Regions from separate parts of the Homo sapiens genome. Here region 1 is linked to region 2. The links are contacts of gene promoters, found by promoter capture Hi-C in blood cells and fetal thymus (Javierre and others, 2016). All regions are on one chromosome and are shown on one strand. Each heading gives the region's core, a stretch centred on a gene start or on the middle of the fragment in contact. The rest is flanking DNA. Distances are from core to core; before and after follow the strand shown. Region 1 overlaps WRNIP1 (WRN helicase interacting protein 1). Region 2 holds the start of SERPINB1 (serpin family B member 1).

Region 1 (3,410 bases), core at 731-3,230, 71 kb before region 2:
GGTTAGGGACAGAGGAGAAAAGGTCAGGATTAGCCTAAGGTTTAGCTACTTTCCTGTTTTATTTATAATATTTTTGTTGTTGTTGTTTTTAAATGTCCTGTGGTATTTTTGATTGTTTCTGTGCTGCTCAGCATTCTTCCGAGGTCAAGTTGCTTTTGGTAAATAGTGATGCTGCGTGTGGTGGTTCCCATGGGTGCTGGTCTCTCTGTGTCTTACCAGCTTTTCAAACTCCATGTATGTCATCTTTTCTAGACCACTCTGGCTCACATCATAGCCAGCAACAGCAAGAAACATAGCATAAGGTTTGTGACATTATCTGCAACAAATGCCAAGACAAATGATGTGCGAGATGTCATAAAACAAGCTCAAAATGAAAAGAGCTTTTTCAAAAGGAAAACCATCCTTTTTATTGATGAGATTCATCGGTTCAATAAATCTCAGCAGGTATATTAACTTCCTTCTACCTTTTGGTCGTTGTGAACATCAAACAATATAAAGTGTGTGAGATCACTATACAAACGCTAGAGACTTACGAGCTTTGTTTACAAAGAAGCGTAGGCTTGTGAACCCATCTCCTTCAAGCCTATTTCTCCATACATTTCTTAGTGTTTTTTGATAACAAGAAAATGCTTTCTCTATCTGATAAATGAAATGGTTGGCATATCCCTGAGCTATACGTATCAGAAAAGCACCTTTGAATCAAATTTCCAGTTTTAGGAATTTTTAATCTAAATACTAGGAGTCATTGTGAACAGTAAAATAATGATTTTAAGGTCATTATTTTAATGGGTTTTTAAAAATTACTTTAACAGTATTTTTATTTTGAAAATTAAACAATCGGTATTTTCTGTAACTCCAGGCTCTGTCTTCAAGGTGAATGTTGGAAGAGCTAATGATTACTGTTTATTTAAATGGGTTTCTGAAATAAAAGGACACAAGCTATTTTTATAAACAAAGCCACTTAGGGATTTAAAAAAAAATAAACATTAAAATTTTATTGGGCTGAGATCTGAGAGCTATACTCTAAATAAAAAAAAATTAAATTTTTAGGCATAACTTTAAAAAATTTTTTTTTGTAACTTTTTAATCATACATAGAATATTTCACAAAACTCTACTGAGCCTTTTTTGAACCTTTTTGAATAAAAAGACCCTTTTAAAGTTCTGACGAGGCGTTAGCATTCTAGGTTTCATATTGGACCACTGACTCATCTTAGTATTTTTTCCCCATAAAACAGCATAATAGGAATAATAATAATATGATTGAGTGCTTGCTGTGGAAGAAGATTCTGGAAGTGTTAATGTTTTTGTGTGTTCTTGTCTATAAATAAATAGCTGTTACATATAAGCTATGTGCCAGTTCAGCCTTTGGTAGAAGATGGTTTTCTGAGTAAAGAAATCATTTATGTTGAAACTAAGCTAGAATTCTACTTAAAGCTATTAGTCTACCAGCAAGAGATCAGGCTTGGACGGGCATTCCAGAAGATGTGTTTCAGACTTAAAAGCAAGAGTTGTACTCCCCCAAATATTGCATCTATATTCAGTGAATATAAGGCTGCTGCTATTCCTGAACTCGAAAGATAAAAATGAGGAAAAGGAAGGAAGGGATAGCCAACTTACATAGGATTCTGCAGGTGGCTGTTGACTGGAATCACTTTTTTCTGTTTTCCTCCCATGATTAGGACACTTTCCTTCCTCACGTGGAATGTGGGACGATCACTCTGATTGGGGCAACCACTGAAAACCCTTCCTTCCAGGTCAACGCTGCTCTTCTGAGCCGCTGTCGAGTGATTGTTCTTGAGAAGCTTCCAGTAGAGGCAATGGTGACTATTTTAATGCGAGCGATCAACTCCCTGGGAATCCACGTCCTAGACTCTAGCCGTCCCACTGACCCTCTGAGCCACAGCAGCAACAGCAGCTCAGAGTAAGTTGACAGTGTGCAGCGTCCTGGGGGCACACACCTCCCAGAGAGTCTCCTGGCAGGGGGCCAGAAAGGGCCGGGCGTCAGTGAGGAGAGGGTGGGGACAGAGAAGAAATGTTGATCCGCCCGTAATGAAAATAAAAGAGGAGGGAAATGTTCGATTATACCTAACAAAGTTATCCCTGCACACTTGAAGATGCATTTTCCAGCCTCTAATATGTGTTTCTATAATTCTTCAAGCTTTAACTTTGCTTTGTTGTTTTGGTTCTTGGGTGTTTGCTTTTGTGCTTAGGCTTCTATGGGAAGCCTTATTGATGATTTGAAAGGCTTTATGTCCCTCATTGAATAGAACAAATAGATAGATAAATACTTTCTAGACTTACCATACAACTCTTTTGAGCATTGTACTCATGTTTCAATTTCTTTTTAACCTGCAGTTTAGCATTTTGTTAAAAAAAAAAAATCAAGTAAAAATTAACTTGTAACCTTAAAATTATGTAATCCTTTTTGTGTAGTTGAAACTCAGTTTCATGAAAGTAAAGGAATGTTAACTGAATATGACATTATAGGCTGTCCCTATCCTTTTAGTGACCTATTTCTGCATCATGAGTACCACATGAGCTCGTTAATGCACCAAGTGTATATCATAGATAATTTGATTTCTTGGGTCAGGGGTTTTCCTTTTTTTTAATATTAGAACATATTCTTCAGATGGTATTTGTTCATACGTTGGCTGAAATACTGCCATGGAACATAATCTGGTGTGATGAGAGGCTATTGCCCACCTCCTCCTGCTGTGGACTCTGCAGCTGCTCGTGCCTGCCCTGAGGCCAAGTTCTGGAGCCACTTTTCTGTGAGGATTAAAGTACAAGGCATAGTTTAGGCTCAGGGTTTAGGTTTCACCAGGCTCTCCCTATGTGTCTGGCCCCATTTGCTCCTGTCTGAGATGGAGGGAGAATTCTGCTGTGTCTAATGAAAGCATTGAAACATTTGGCCCGTGGACCACTGGGTAGGACAGAGTGGCCTTGTTTTGGAATACCGTTGTGATGGGGATAGCCATTACATCTGTGGCCACAAGCAGTGTGTGGAACCTGTGGTATCAGCCACATGGACTCATACTCAGAAGTGCTTTATGTGGTGGGCATTTGTCAGAGCCTAAGGGGGCTGCCAGCTCCTCATATGTAGTACAGGTTGAGTATCCCAAATCTGAAATCCAAAATGCTCCCAAATCTAAAGCTTTTTGAGCACCTTCATGATGCTGTGAAAGGAAATGCTTATTGGAGCACTTCAGATTTCTGGATTTTGGGTGCTCATCTGGTAAGTATATAATGCAAATATTCTAAAATCAAAAAAATAGGAAATTCAGACCACTTCTGGTCCCAGGCACTTCAGATGTGGGATACTCATGTGTAGGTTTCCCGTAACAGAATTCTCATTACAGACGCATAGAACCACATGGTAAAGACAAATTGAAAGAAAAGGGGGGAAAT
Region 2 (3,359 bases), core at 85-2,584:
TCAACGCCAGGAACAGGTCCAAGGCGAAGCGGGTGTTTGCTGAGCTCAGCTGCTCCATGGTGAAAACTGCAACACAGAACAGGGTCCTCATGGTGCCCACTGCCCACGCCAGCAGATTAGGCAGCACTATTTCTCCAGAAGCTTCCTCAATTTCTGCCAACCGCCCTGAGGCATCCTGGATCTTGTACTTTCTCCCCGCTTTTTTATTCCAGCAGGGCAAGAACACTTTCCCAGGCCCACAAATGTGGGACCATTCTGGCCAAGGACTCAGCAGTTATAGGGGATTTTAGGGCACCCAGGGTGCCCTAAAGGGCTCTGACCTTGCAGACAGGTGAGTCTGGGGGTGGGGCGGGGGTAAGGCAGGCCCCAGCTACCCCAGCTTTAGTGGGGTGGGAGGGCCCACCCAGCCCTGGGTCTTCCCAACCTATGTGTGGGAGCGCACGTGCTTCTGAGCCTTTGATTCAAGTCTCTGATTCATTGGGCAATGAATCCATTGCCTACCTTCACCTGAACTAAGAGCCTTCTATCAGAGACTCAGCTACCTACTATGCATTAAAACTCCAGCAAAGGTATCACTGTAATTATTATAATAATATAATTCTTCCTTATTTTTGAGGTTCAAAAGGTATGAGGTCCAGTGCCCACAGTCTCAGAGCCGGTGTAGGATGTGCCAGTTTGGAAACCCACCACAGTCCAGGGTCTGGCCGTGCAGCGTCCCATCCGCCACCCACTAGCCCATCTCGATCTCCACTCTCAGAGCCCTGATTTCCCCCGAGGACAGGCAAAGAAGAACCGTGCTGGCTGCTCGGCATGTAAGCACAAAGCTGATTTCTCCTTGTTGTGAAATCGTCTCTAGAATCGCACGGGGTTCCTCCTCTCTCTCCCTGCAGCTGCAGATAGGAGCCGCGGCCTGGCCCTGGGCTGCCTGGAAACCGTCACAAACAGCTCTGGGAGGAAGGGAATTCAGGGAGAAGGGACAACATTCTGATCTCAGGTTTCAGTCTTGCCTTCCGCCTGCATCTGTCGTCCTCCCTCCCTCCCTCCCTCGCGGGCTGGCCCGGCCTGTACCCAGGCGGGGGCGGGGGATCAGAGGTCGTCTGTCTCCGTCGGGGCGCCCGGAAGGGATGGGGGCGCGAAGCTGGCGGGGAGGGCGAGCGCAGGGAGCTGCGGGTCTGAGGGGCCTGAGCCTGGGGGGTGGGGGGTGCCGGGCTGGAAGCTGAGCGAGGGAGCCTGGCCTCTCCCCGCGCCCGCCCCCGCGCCACCGCTCCGAGGCCCGGCCTTACCCGACAGGCCGCCGAGGCACGCTCCGGGCTCCGAGCTGGGTGCGAGGTCAGGAAGGAGGCACCGAGGGCCGCTGCTCTTATAGCAGGCGGAAGCGTCACCCGGGCCAGCAGCCGCGGGCGGGGCGGCGGCCCTTCCCGGTGACTGCGTAGGAGTCCGAGCTCCCGAGGTCGCCTAAGTGCAAGCAGAAGTGAGCGTGGCTTCCGGGCAGCGCCCTCCTCAGGGGCGCGGCTTCTTTCTCAGTTCAAAGCCTTTCCCCGAATCTCTGGCAAGGACCTGAAAAGCTTTTTCTTACTAAGGTGTGAATGACTGAGACGACATATTGTGACACCTCTTAGAGGGCAAATGACTCCCTTTGAGTCCCATCTATATTGGGAGCTTTCTTTGAGAGAAGGAAGCAAATTTGGGGATCTTGCACAGGGAAAAAGAGGGGCCCCCAGAATCAGATGAAACAGAACCAGTTCCAAACACCTGCTCTCTGTTTCCAAGATGACAGCTTGCTGCTGCGTCCTCAATGGTGGAAAGTGGAAGGGCAAAAGGGGCCAAATCTCATGTGAAGTCTCTCGTATAAGGGGCCAATCCCATTCATGAGGAAGGTGCCCTCATAATCCAGTCACCTCCTAAAGGCACCACCTGTTAGTATTGCATTGAGGATTGTTTCAGCATGAATTTTGCAGGGAACACAGACATTCAAAGCATAGCATTCTGCCCCTGCCCTCCAAATTCATACCCCTCTCACATGCAAAATGCATGCATTGTATCCCAGTGGCCTCCAAAGTTCCAGTATCAACTTTAAAATGTAAGTCCAAAGTCTCACCTAAATATCTTCTAAATTAGAAAGGCATAAGATTCAAAGTACAATTCATCCTAAGTGAAATTCCCCTCCAGCTATGAGCCCGTGAAATCAAATAGGTTACAGGCCTTCAAAATACAGTGATGAGACAGGCATAGGACGTACATTCCCATTCCCAAAGGGAGAAGCAGGCAAGAAGAAAGGAGTATCTGGTCCCAAGTAAGTCCAAACCCAACAAGGCAAACAGCATTAAATCTTGGGGCTTCAGAATAATCTTCTTTGATGCTGTGTCCCCCATTCCGAGCACAGGGGGGTGGAGACTGGGTCCCCTAGTGTCCAGGGGATCCACTCCCATGGATTTGCCAGGTGCAACCCATGCAGCAGCTCTCACAGGTTGAGGTCTAGGCTCTCCCAGGATAGACTTGCATGCTGGTGGCTGGACAGTTCTGGGTTCTCAGGGACAGCCCTGTTCCCACAGCTCCACTAGATATTACTCTATTTGGGGCTCTCTGCAGTGGCCCCAATCCCACTGCTCCACTAAACATTGCCCTAGTGAGGGTTTTCTGCAGCAGCCTCACCTCAGTGACAATTCTCAGACTGGGCCCCCAGGGTCCCCAACACATCCTTCAAAATCTAGGTGGAGGTGGCTGTGTCTCCACAGTTCATGCACTCTGTGCACCTGCAGAGTTAGCATCACGTGGACTCTGCCAAGGCTTACAGGAAGGGTGGCCTGACAAGGGCCTGCATAAGCCACACGTGGGATGGTGGCCAAAGAGTGCTGCACCAGAATGTGGGGGGTGGGGGGGCAGAGACTTGAGGCAGCCCTAGGCAGCAAGCCCCAAGGTTCCATGGTGTCCTGAGTCCTCCCTTAAAACTATTCTGCCCTCAGGGTCCTGGCACTCTGGGACAGGGATGAGAATCCAGAACCAGTAACCTCAGAAATGCCTTTGGGTTCATTCTTCCATTGTCTTGATAAATAGCATCTGGCTTCCTTCTACACATACTCATCTCATTATCAAATGTGAACCTGGCAGCACTCTTGGTGTTCCCTCCCAAACATGCCTTTTCATTCTTTACATGGCCAGGCTGAGAATTTTCCAAAACTTTAAGCTCTGCTTCCCTCTTGATTATAAACTTCGTTTTTAATTCATTCTCTCTGCTCACATTTTACTACAAGCAGTCAAGAGAAGCCATGCTGCACTCTCAACGCTTTGCTCAGAGATTTCTTCCATCAAATATCCTAGTTTATTGCCTTTAAGTTCTGCCATTCAGAAAACACTAGGAC

What was found. Contacts are between HindIII fragments. The CHiCAGO score rates a contact against its expected background, and 5 or more counts as called.
Region 1: a fragment that was not itself captured here is called in contact with the fragment with the promoter of SERPINB1 in region 2 in 3 of 17 cell types (megakaryocytes, total CD8 T cells and activated CD4 T cells); the score reaches 6.8 in megakaryocytes.

Annotation. Positions count from the first base shown.
Region 1 is chr6:2,768,439-2,771,848 of GRCh38, forward strand. WRNIP1 (WRN helicase interacting protein 1) reads left to right here. Exons shown (of 7, transcript NM_020135.3): 2 at 253-444; 3 at 1,682-1,923. It also overlaps a transcript of MYLK4 not described here. Among named protein-coding and RNA genes, the nearest start is that of WRNIP1, 4.8 kb to the left of the region's middle. The HindIII fragment of the contact is 356 bases long and covers 1,803-2,158 here.
Region 2 is chr6:2,840,529-2,843,887 of GRCh38, forward strand. It overlaps SERPINB1 (serpin family B member 1), which reads right to left and starts at 1,335. Exons shown (of 7, transcript NM_030666.4): 1 at 1,284-1,335; 2 at 1-66. The coding sequence starts at 58. RefSeq lists a silencer at 1,230-1,279. The HindIII fragment of the contact is 1,424 bases long and covers 140-1,563 here.